Linked DNA regions of Homo sapiens: region 2 is linked to region 1. Evidence: promoter capture Hi-C in 16 types of primary human blood cells and fetal thymus (Javierre and others, 2016). All regions are on one chromosome and are shown on one strand. The core of a region is centred on a gene start or on the middle of the fragment in contact, and the rest is flanking DNA. Distances in the headings are between cores, read along the strand shown.

Region 1 (5,465 bases), core at 2,073-4,572:
TAACTCTTTGAACTCAAGGTCACTTCTAAGCAGATAATATGCAAGTCTGTTTTTTAACAGTAACCCAGTTGGCAGCTTAGGGAGCTTATCCATCATCAGACCTCGCCTGTGAAGGACTCCACCATTCATGAAGTAGATTGATATAGCAGATTTATACAGCCATAAAATTATGAGTAATATCAAGAGACTGACCTTGGTTATGTCGAGATGAAACATACAAATCACATATGGCAATGCATGAGAAATCTCATGCCAGCCCCCAGTCTGATTACACCCACCCATATCGCCAATTCACAGTTTCACACAGGCTGAAATGAAGAACAAGATGAGTTGTAAAAGCATGAAACACCTTTTTAATACAAATCCTGCAACTACAGTAAGCCACAGTTTTGAATTTGCAGTCGTTATTACTGCCCGAGCTCTCTATGGCTCCCAGTCAAATAACTGTGATTTCTTAGGGACATTACCTCCGAACATAAATTCACTCAGCAAACATTTACTAAGTGCCTGTTGGGCACTAGGTATACCAGAGAAATAAGAAAAAAATGAAGATATCTCTTTCTGTCTTTAAGGAGAGCCTCAAAGAGAAGATTTTTGTAAATGGAAAATTACAGAACTGTGAACAGGAGCCATGGGAGCACAAAGGAAGGAGGAGTCAACTGCAGGCTGTGGAGTTGATGAAAGCAACACACTGAAAGTGATATTGGAGTTATGTTGACATTTCCTGGAGTAATGACCCACAACCCTGCAGTATCTCTTCCCCGTGTTTCCCCATCTATTACTGGTATATAGCTCCCACTCAGGGCTAGCACTAGGCATAAATATCAAGTAGACTGAGTCTTCTTTCATAATCTCATATCCTTTTCCAGCCAATATCCCTCAAAGCCCAGGAATGTTCAGTTAGGGTCCTAGCAGGAAACAGCCTTCAAGCCAGATGGGTCATGTGAGGAGACCTTAATGAAGGGACTCCTTGCAGAGATATGGTCAAGGTTAACGGAACAAACAAGGATGATGGGCATCTGCAGGCTAACAACTATGGGAAGCCATTATCACCCCTAGGGCTTAAGAGATAAGAATAGCAAATACCGTTACTGAAGCCCAATGGGAGCTAGAACCATGAAGAAGGGGTTATTCAGGGAAGACAGCATTACAGAAGAACATAGCTACTGCCAAAGACATCACAGAAAGTGGGGAAGGAGCAAGAAAGATGTATCCCAGCCTCTCTTTCCTCCCTGCTCTCTGACATCTCTCCTTTCAGTGTCTCCCATTGTATGAACCCAAGCAGAAATCAGCTTGCAAGAGAGTCTAGGTGATGCAGTCTAGCAGTCAGCCTCAAGGACACAGAACAGAACAGAGAAGGATGCACTCTAAGGAGTCAGAAGGAGAACAGCCAGCACCAAGTGACCTTCCCTTGCCTTTATAACTTACTTGTTTTATTTCCTGTCCCCCCAATTATCAAAGTGACAAGTCTTCACACCCAAAGGAGCAATGACATTGTGGAACAGCCCTGGACCGAGGGCCAGAAGATCTGCAGTCTCCTTCAGGTTGCTCCTTATGTGAGCGTGGTCACTCTCTAGGCCTAGAGAAAAATCTAGGCCTCATCTTTAAATGGGGATATTTTCTTCACCTACTACAAATAGTCAGTGAGATTGTCATAGGAGATAATATGTTTAAGGAATATTATTCCATATTATTGGAGAGTTCTTTGAGAATCACATGCAGGTAATATATAAGCTTTATTATTTCCAAAAATATCACCCTTTGCCTCTCTCCTCCTTTCCTCTTTCATCTTCTGCCTCTTACCCTCACCCCCAATCTTTCCCATAAATGATGACACTTTCTGGATTAAATTTTCATGGAAGCAGAGACTATGTTTGTCTTGTTCGCTGCCATATCCCCCAAAGTGCCTGGCACATAGTAGGCCATCAATCAATATTTGAACAATTAATATATGGATTTTTTTTTTTTGAGATGGAGTCTCACTCTGTCACCCAGGCTAGAGTGCAGTGGCATGATCTCGGCTCACTGCAACCTCCGCCTCCTGGGTTCAAGTGATTCTCCTGCCTCAGTCTCCCGAGTAGCTGGGATCACAGGTGCGCACTGTGCACAGCTAATTTTTTGTATTTTTAGTAGAGATGGGTGTGCCGAGCTAATTTTTTGTATTTTTAGTGAGATGGGGTTTCACTATGATGGCCAAGCTGGTTTCAAACTCCTGACCTCAAGCGATCCGTCTGCCTCGGCCTCTCAACGTGCTAGGATTACAGGTGTGAGCCACCACTCCCAGCCATATGATTTAAAATTTTTTTATTTGTATAAATTTATGATGTACACATGCAATTTTGTTATAGCATAGATTGTGTAGTGGTCAAGTTGGGGCTTTAAGGTATCCATCACCCAAGTAACACACATTGTACCCATTAAGTAATTTCTAATCATCCACCCCCCTCGCCCTTCCAAATCTCCATGGTCAGTCATTCCACTCTCTATGTGCATGGGTGATTTGAAAGAACTCCTTCCTCTCATGTTCATCAGTCACACCTATGGTGGTGGCCAAGTCTAAGTTCTGGACACTGCCCACCAGTACCAGTCCTCAGCCCAGGGAGCAAGTGATTAGGGCAGAGAAGCCTGGTGGTTCTAGCCCATGGGCCCTTTCCCCTATTTGAGGCAACAGAAGGCATTTGCTTCCCCAGTGACTTGAGCTCCCCGAATAATGAAAAACTCTCCCTTCTACTTGATTAATACTTCTCACAGTCAGTAAACAAACCCAGAGCCATGGTTTTATCTTTCTTGGATCTTTTATTACAGGTAGGGCTTGTGTTGAGGAAAAACATAAATAAACCTGAACAATGGATCTACTCCACTGTTAATGCCCCTGAAACTCTGACTACATCCTCATGAGACTCTGGAAGTTAGAAAAGAGGAGAAACAAAAGTAAAAGAAAAAATATGAGCAGAAAAGAAAGGAGGCCATGCTCAGAGGGAAAGTGAGGAAGTTCCAGAGTCTTTCTAGAACGGCTCCCCCTCCCTCAGAAGGTGGTGACATCAAAATCCTACAAATATGAACTGGGAAACTGTTCAGGCAATCCATTGCTCCTGGAGTCTGAGTGTAATACATACACGTTTCTGCCCCTGGCTTCTATATTTTTCACCACAAGTTTTAGGAAGAAAAGCTGTGCCTTCTAGGCTGCCTCGACTTTGGAGTTAGGAGAGAAGAGGACGTGGGATACTCACGGGAATCGCTGTGCTTCACCATTAACACAATGATGAGAGGTAACAGGAACGCCATCAGTTCCCCCATAGTCCTTCTCTTTCCGGGTTCTTTTAACCAAAAACTGACAGGTCCCTTCTGAGAACCTCTTGGTGACACACAAGGCCTTCTCCCAATAAGAACAGGGGAAGATATGCAGTGTCATCAGTTGCTAGGTTAAAAAAAAAAGATAAAATGAAAGCATGAACACCTTCTTCGGTAACTTTTAAGTCTTTGCTGGTTTCAGACACTGCTTGCTCCTTTTGGTGTATCTATCTTCACCCTATTCCCAATTTTTAAATATTTATGGAGCATAGTCATGTTCAAAGCACAGAGAAACAAAGATTAATCATATCTGGTCAATCAGGGAGCTCAAGCTGCTGCCTCTGCTTCCCTGGAGCTTAGAATTTTGCTTAAGGGTCAGTAAGAAAGAGTCACAGTTCCCACGGCTTGGAACTCCCTGCTCTGGCTCCCTATGATGCTGAAGTCTCTGTCTGAGATAGCAGGTGTCACTTAGATTGTCCCGTAATCTTCAACTTAGGTCTGTCCTCCCTGCTACTCTAGCACCCAGCACAATAAGCTCAAAACACTTACTGAATAAAAGAAGGCAAGAGAAAGGCCTACAGAAGATTCTGAGGGGCAGCCACTCAGCTTGCTCAATCAGCAATCCCCAAGATCAAGCTGTGGCTACACTGTCATAAGGAGCACATGACAAGCTGGAAAACAGCAGCTTAAGCTTGTCCAGGGAGCTAGGGAACAGGCCCAGACAGGAAAGAGGAAGTAGACATGAAGGGGAGAGGTGAATGGAGGCATGGCCATGAGGCAGGCAGGCTTGAGCTGGGTTCAGGGACCTGGGTTTGCCTCCCCACTATTTGACCATGGGCAGAATCCCAAATTGCACCAAGGCCTGATTTCTTCAACTTTAAAAGCAAATCCTGTCATATATTTCACAGAGTTGTTGAAGGATCAGAAGTTCTGTTTATGATGCATTTAGTAGGTAGTAGAACCTTATGTACCGGTTGTATGGTAGGTTGAGAATTGTCGCCCCAAAGATGTCCACAACCTAATTGCCAGAACCTGTGGATATATTACCTTAAATGGCAAAAACAAAATAAAACAAAACAAAACCCTTGGCAGATATGATTAAATTAAGGATCTTGAGACAGAGAGCTATCCTGGATTATCTGGTGGACCCAGTGTAATCAGAGGGGCCTTATTAGAGGGAGGCAAAAGGGTCAGAGTCAAGGAGATGTGACAATGGAAGCAAAGGTCAGAGTGATGATGCCATTGCTGAAAGAAGGACATGAGCCAAGGAACGCAGATGGCCTCTAGAACTAGAAAAGAGAAGGAACAGATTCTCCTTAGAGCCTCCAGAAGGAACACAACACTTTGATTTCAGCTGATAGGACACATTTTTGGACTTCTGTCCTCCAGAACTTTGAAAGAATAAATTTGCATTGTTCGAGGCCACTAAGTTGGTGGTAATTTGTTATAGCAGCAACAGGAAACTAATAGGTCTACCTTTACCCAGAATAAAATAAGAAGCCAAATAATGAAATTAACATTTGGCAATCTCTCAGCGGCCCCTGGCACCTTCTCTTCTCAGATCTTTGTATTTCTCTCTTCCTTTCCTTTCTGTTTCTTTACATTGTTTTTCCTTTTGTTACTCATTTAACAAATACAGTCACCTGGATTTCTCTTTTGGAAAACTCCCCCAATATTCCCAAATGTCTCTCAGCACTGGAATTCCATGGCCATGTATTTTTTCCTTTGAATTTTTGTTAATATCTTGTTCCAAAATGCATTCCATACCATAACCTGCTGTACTGACATTAAAAAGTAGGTATGAGGCCGGGCGCGGTGGCTCACGCCTGTAATCCCAGCACTTTGGGAGGCCGAGGCGGGCAGATCACGAGGTCAGGAGATCGAGACCATCCTGGAACATGGTGAAACCCTGTCTCTACTAAAAATACAAAAAATTAGCCAGGCGTGGTGGTGAGTGCCTGTAGTCCCAGCTACTCGGGAGGCTGAGGCAGGAGAATGGTGTGAACCCAGGAGGTAGAGGTTGCAGTGAGCTGAGATTGTGCCACTGCACTCCAGCCTGGGTGACAGAGCAAGGCTCCATCTCAAAAAAAAAAAAAAATGTAGGTATGTCAACGATGTCTTTCTTTTTTTTGAGACAGAGTCTCACTCTGTCGCCTAGGCTGAAGTGCAGTGGT
Region 2 (5,465 bases), core at 1,492-3,991, 520 kb after region 1:
AAACCCTTAAAGAATGATGACTGCAGCTGGTCACGGTGGCTCACGCCTGTAATCCCAGCACTTTGGAAGGCCGAGGCGGGCGGATCACAAGGTCAGGAGATCGAGACCATCCTGGCTAACACGGTGAAACCCCGTCTCTACTGAAAATACAAAAAAAAATTAGCTGGGCATTGTGGCGGGTGCCTGTAGTCCCAGCTACTCGGGAGGCTGAGGCAGGAGAATGGCATGAACCGGGAGGTGGAGCAGCCTGGGCGACAGAGCGAGACTCCATCTCAAAAAAAAAAAAAAAGGCCAACGACTGTGTCTTTTACACATTCACTCATTTATTTATTCAATAAAGATTTAGCTGGCTGGGCGAAGTGGGTCACACCTGTAATTCCAGCACTTTGGGAGGCCAAGGCAGGCAGATCACTTGAGGTCAGGAGTTGGAGACCAGCCTGGGCAACATGGCGAAACCCCATCTCTACCAAAATTCAAAAGTTACACAGGCGTGGTGGTGGTGCACGCGTGTAGTCCCAGCTACACAGGAGGCTGAGGTGGGAGGATTGCTTGAGTCCAGGAGGGGGAGATTGCAGTGTTACAAGAGTTATTAAGAAATTATGTTAGGCAGATAGAGAGGAAAAGGGGTTGTTGTAAAGTTATTTCTTTTAAAGCAGCTCCAGAAACATTTCTTGTCTAGCAGGAAAGCCCTGGCTCTTAGAGCTAGGCCAGCAACCTTTGATACGCAAATACAGGCCATTAGAAACCGGGTCCACCCAAACATGGCAATTCCTGCCCCCTTCTTCTTGCCCTTGCCCAAACATGTGCCTGGTAACATGGCTGCCCCCATATATCCCTACCTGTGTGGAACATCATGGCACCCTGAATTTGCATCTTAAAAGGCTAGGGTGGGATGGCCAGTTTTTTCCTCAGGCTACCATGAAAGACGTGGCTGATCAAACCAATCCCCTGAGCCCTACGCAAATCAGACACCACTTCCTCCAGTCTACTCGTGTAAGCAGCCACTTTTCCATGGCTTGTGGGGTTTCATCTCTCCACTTTGGAGCCCCTCTGCCCCCTCCCCCTCGTCTGTGCATGGGGGAGCTTCTTCCTCCTTACTTGCCTATTAAACTCTCTGCTCCTGAAAACCACTACGTGTGTCCATGCCGTTTTATCTAATTTGACTCGAGACGAAGAACCCTGGTGTTCCTCCACTCATTGGAACCGTATCAGCAGCAAGACAAGATCGTGTCACTGCATTCCAGCCTGGGTGACACACTGAGACCCCATCTCAAAAAAAAAAAAGAAAATATTTAGCTATGTGTCAACTCTGGAGAGTATAGCAGCAATAAAAACTGACAAAAATCCCTTCCCTCATGAAACTTATATAGATTAGATGTAATAAATGAGTAAAAGATACCACGTATTAGATGCAACAAGTGCTAAAGAAGTAGAATAGAGAGTGTTGCTGGGAGTCGGGTCGCAAGTTTTTAATATGGTTGTCAAGGAAGCTTTTATTAATGTGACATTTGAGCAAAGACCTGAAAGAGATGAGGGCAAATTGTGGATATTTTGGGGCAAAGTGTTCCAGAACGAGGGAATAACAAGTCCAAGGATACTAAAATGGTAATATGTTGGATCATGCTTGACTTGTAGAAGAGCTACAGGGAGGTTCATGTGGCTGGAGTAGAGTGAGGGAAAGAAAATTTTGTTCATTGTAGTATTCTTAGGAGTTAGCACTGTGTCTGAATCATATCAGGAATTAATGTATTTTTAATGGATCAATCAGTATTTTGGTGCTAATGTAAAAAAAGTTGCCAAACATTAACATCATTTTTCACAGAATTAGAAAAAACAATTCTAAAATTCATATGGAACGAAAAAAAGAGCCCCAATAGCCAAAGCAATCCTAATCAAAAAAAACAAATCTGGAGGCATCACATTATCGAGCTTCAAATTATGCTATAAAACTGCAGTTACCAAAACAGCATGGTACTGGTATAAAAGTAGGCACACAGACCAATAAAACAGAACAGAGAACCCAGAAATAAACCCAAATACATGCAGCCAACTGATCTTTGACAAAGCATACAAAAACATCAATCGGGAAATGGACATCCTATTTAATAAACGATGCTGGGGAAACTGGCAAGCCACATGTAGAAGAATGAAATTGGATCCCTATCTCATCTTATACAAATATCAACTCAAGATGAATCAAATACTTAAATATAAGACCTGAAACCATAAAAATTCTAGAAGACAACATTGTAAAAACTCTTCTAGTCATCAGCCTTGGCAAAGTATTCATGACTAAGACCCCAAAAGCAAATGCAACAAAAACAAAAATAAATAAATGGGACCTAATTAAACTAAAAAGCTTCTTCATAGCAAAAGAAATAATAATCAGAGTAAACAGACAACCCAGAGTGGGAGAAAATATTTGTAAACTATGCATCCCACATAGGACTAGTGTCAAGAATCTACATGGAACCCAAACAAATCAGCAAGAAAAAAAAAAATCCCATCCAAAAGTGGGCAAAGGACATGCACGGACATTTCCAAAAGAAGATATACAAATGGCCAACAAACATATGAAAAATGCTCAACATTACTAATCATCAGGGAAATGCAAATTAAAACCACAATGAGTTACTGCCTTACTCCTGTAAGAACGGCCATTATTAAAAAGTCAAAACACAATAGATGCTGGCATGGATGTGGGGAAAAGGGAATGCTTATTCACTGCTGGTGGGAATGCAAATTAATACAACCTCTATAGAAAATGGTATGGAGATTCCTTAAAGAACTAAAAGTAGGTCGACCATTTGATCCAGCAAGCCCACTACTGACTGTATGTACCCAAAGGAAAAGAAGTCATTTATATAAAAAAAACACTTGCACACACATTTATAGTAGCACAAATGCAAAAGATGTGGAACCAACCTAAGTGCCCATCAACCAATGACTAAAGAAAATGTGGTATATAGACACCACGGAATACCACTCAGCCATGAAAAGGAATAAAACAATGTCTTTGGCAGCAACTTGTATGGAGCTGGAAGCCATTATTCTAAATGAAGTAACTCAGGAGTGGGAAACCAAAACCTGTATGTTCTCGCTTGTAAGCGGGAGCTAAGCTTTGAGTACATGAAGACATACAGAGTGGTATAATGGAGTTTAGAGACTCAGCAGGGGGAGGGTGGGAATGGGGTTAGAGATAAATAACCACATATTAAGTACAATGTACACTACTTGGGTGACAGGTGCACTAAAGTCTCAGAAGTCACCACTACATTATTCATCCATATAACAAAAAAAATTTATACCTCAAAAGGTATTGATACAAAAATTTTTTAAATGTCAATATTTCACAAAAACCTAAATTGTACTAAACCCAGTGCAGTTACTTTTGTAACGAGGAAAATATTTTGTCTGGTTGCCCTGACTTCAGTTATGCTACTGAAACAGTTATTGTGTCTGCAATTGGTGGGTTCTTGAACTCACTGACTTCAAGAATGAAAACGTGGACCCTCACGGTGAGTGTTACAGTTCTTAAAGATGGTGTGTCGGGAGTTTGTTCCTTCTGATGTTCGGACGTGTTTGGAGTTTCTTCCTTCTGGTGGGTTCGTGATCTCCCTGGCTTCAGGAGTGAAGCTGCAGACCTTGGCGGTGAGTGTTACAGCTCTCAAGGCGGTGCGTCTGGAGTTGTTCATTCCTCCCAGTGGGTTCGTGGTCTTGCTGGCCTCAAGAGTGAAGCTGCAGACCTTCGCCATGAGTGTCACAGCTCACAAAGACAGTGCGGACCCAAACAGTTAGCACCAGCAAGAGTTACTGCAGAGAGCAAAACAACTAAGCTGGAGACCTGAGCGACTTGCCGCAGCTGGCTCTTGGCAGCCTGCTTTTATTCTCTTATCTGGCCCCACCCACATCCTGCTGAGATTGGTCCATTTTACAGAGAGCTGATTGGTCCGTTTTGACAGGGTGCAGATTGGTGCATTTACAATCCCTGAGCTAGACACAAAAGTTCTCCAAGTCCCCCACTAGATTAGCCAGACACAGAGCACTGATTGATGCATTTACAAAGCCTGAGCTAGATACAGACTGCTGATTGGTGCATTCACAAACCTTGAGCTAGACACAGGGTGCTGATTGGTGCATTTACAATCCTCCAGCTAGACATAAAAGTTCTCCAAGTCCCACCTCCCCCCACCAACTCAGGAGGTCAGCCAGCTTCGCCTGGTGGATCCCGTGCCAGGGCAGCGGGCGGAGCTGTTCAACCAGTCCAGCGCTGCGTGCCTGCGGGCTCCTCAGCCCTTGGGCGGTAGATGGGACCGGGTGCTGCGGAGCAGGGGGCGGCACTCGTTGGGGAGGCTAGGGCTGCGCAGGAGCCCATGGCGGGGTGGGGGAAGGCTCGGGCATGGTGGGCTGCAGGTCCTGAGCCCTGTCCTGCAGGGAAGCAGCTGCGGCCCTGTGAGGATCCGAGTGCAGTGCCGGTGGGCCGGTACTGCTGGGGGACCCGGCCCACCCTCTGCAGCTGCTGGCCCAGGTGCTAAGCCGCTCACTGCCCGGGGCCAGTGTTTCCGGTCTGCCGCTCCAAGTGCAGGGCCCACAGATCCCATGCCCTCCTGGAACTCACGCTGGCCTGCGACCGCCACGCGCAGCCCCGGTTCCAGCCTGCTCCTCTCCCTCCACACCTCCCTGCAAGCAGAGGGAGCCGGCTCTAGCCTTGGCCAGCCCAGAGAGGGGCTCCCACAGTGCAGCGGCAGGCTGAAGGGCTCCTCAAGCACTGCCGAGGCCGAGGAGGTGCTGACAGCCAGCCCTCTGTGAGGGCTGCCAGTAGGTCGTCACCTCTCATTATGACTTTTGTTAATTCAGATGTTTAGATCAGTTCAGATGTTATGTTGGGAAGCATTTTACAACAATCACATATTTTTCTCTTTGCATTTCTTCTTGAAATACTTAGAACTGTAGTTTATAATGAATATAAACACTGGAAAATGCCACAACATTGTTGGGTAGTATTCTAATAACATAACATTCAGACCTTCTAGCAAGGTTAATAGAACTACTCAGCATCACTTAAACAAATTGCCAGTTTGAGGACTTATTTTGCTTCTAATTTCTTAGAACATGACTCATAGAATTTTATTTATTATGCATATCATGTCATCAATATTTATTTTACTTGCAAGAATGACTCATTGTTACCAGAAGATGGGGCTGTGAACACCATATGCAACATGGCCACCATCATGAGCCAGACTGATTAGATCTTCACTACTTCTTTCCTGCCTGCTCCTTTTTCTGCTCACTTTAGACTCCATTTGTCAGTGTTTCCTGCCATTGCTTTTCACTTGTTAGCGGGTTTGTTTGAATCAGTGTATGTTGACTGCTAAACTTCAATTCCTGCAGAACTGTAATACTTTCTTTTGACTTCCTGATTTCTTGGCTGATTTTTCTTGGGATTCAAAGAAACATAAACA

Evidence for each region. The method cuts DNA at HindIII sites, captures the fragments that hold promoters and counts their contacts. A CHiCAGO score of 5 or more calls a contact.
Region 2: a contact is called between a fragment that was not itself captured here and the fragment with the promoter of MR1 in region 1, in 14 of 17 cell types (total CD8 T cells, naive CD8 T cells, naive CD4 T cells and 11 more). The highest score is 12.9, in total CD8 T cells.

What each region holds. Positions count from the first base shown.
Region 1 is chr1:181,031,840-181,037,304 of GRCh38, reverse strand. MR1 (major histocompatibility complex, class I-related) reads right to left here and starts at 3,322. Exons shown (of 6, transcript NM_001385161.1): 1 at 3,231-3,322. The coding sequence starts at 3,297. RefSeq lists enhancers at 3,413-3,522, 3,653-3,752, 3,953-4,142. The HindIII fragment of the contact is 2,248 bases long and covers 1,737-3,984 here.
Region 2 is chr1:180,507,804-180,513,268 of GRCh38, reverse strand. No RefSeq gene overlaps it. Among named protein-coding and RNA genes, the nearest start is that of ACBD6, 8.0 kb to the right of the region's middle. The HindIII fragment of the contact is 760 bases long and covers 2,362-3,121 here.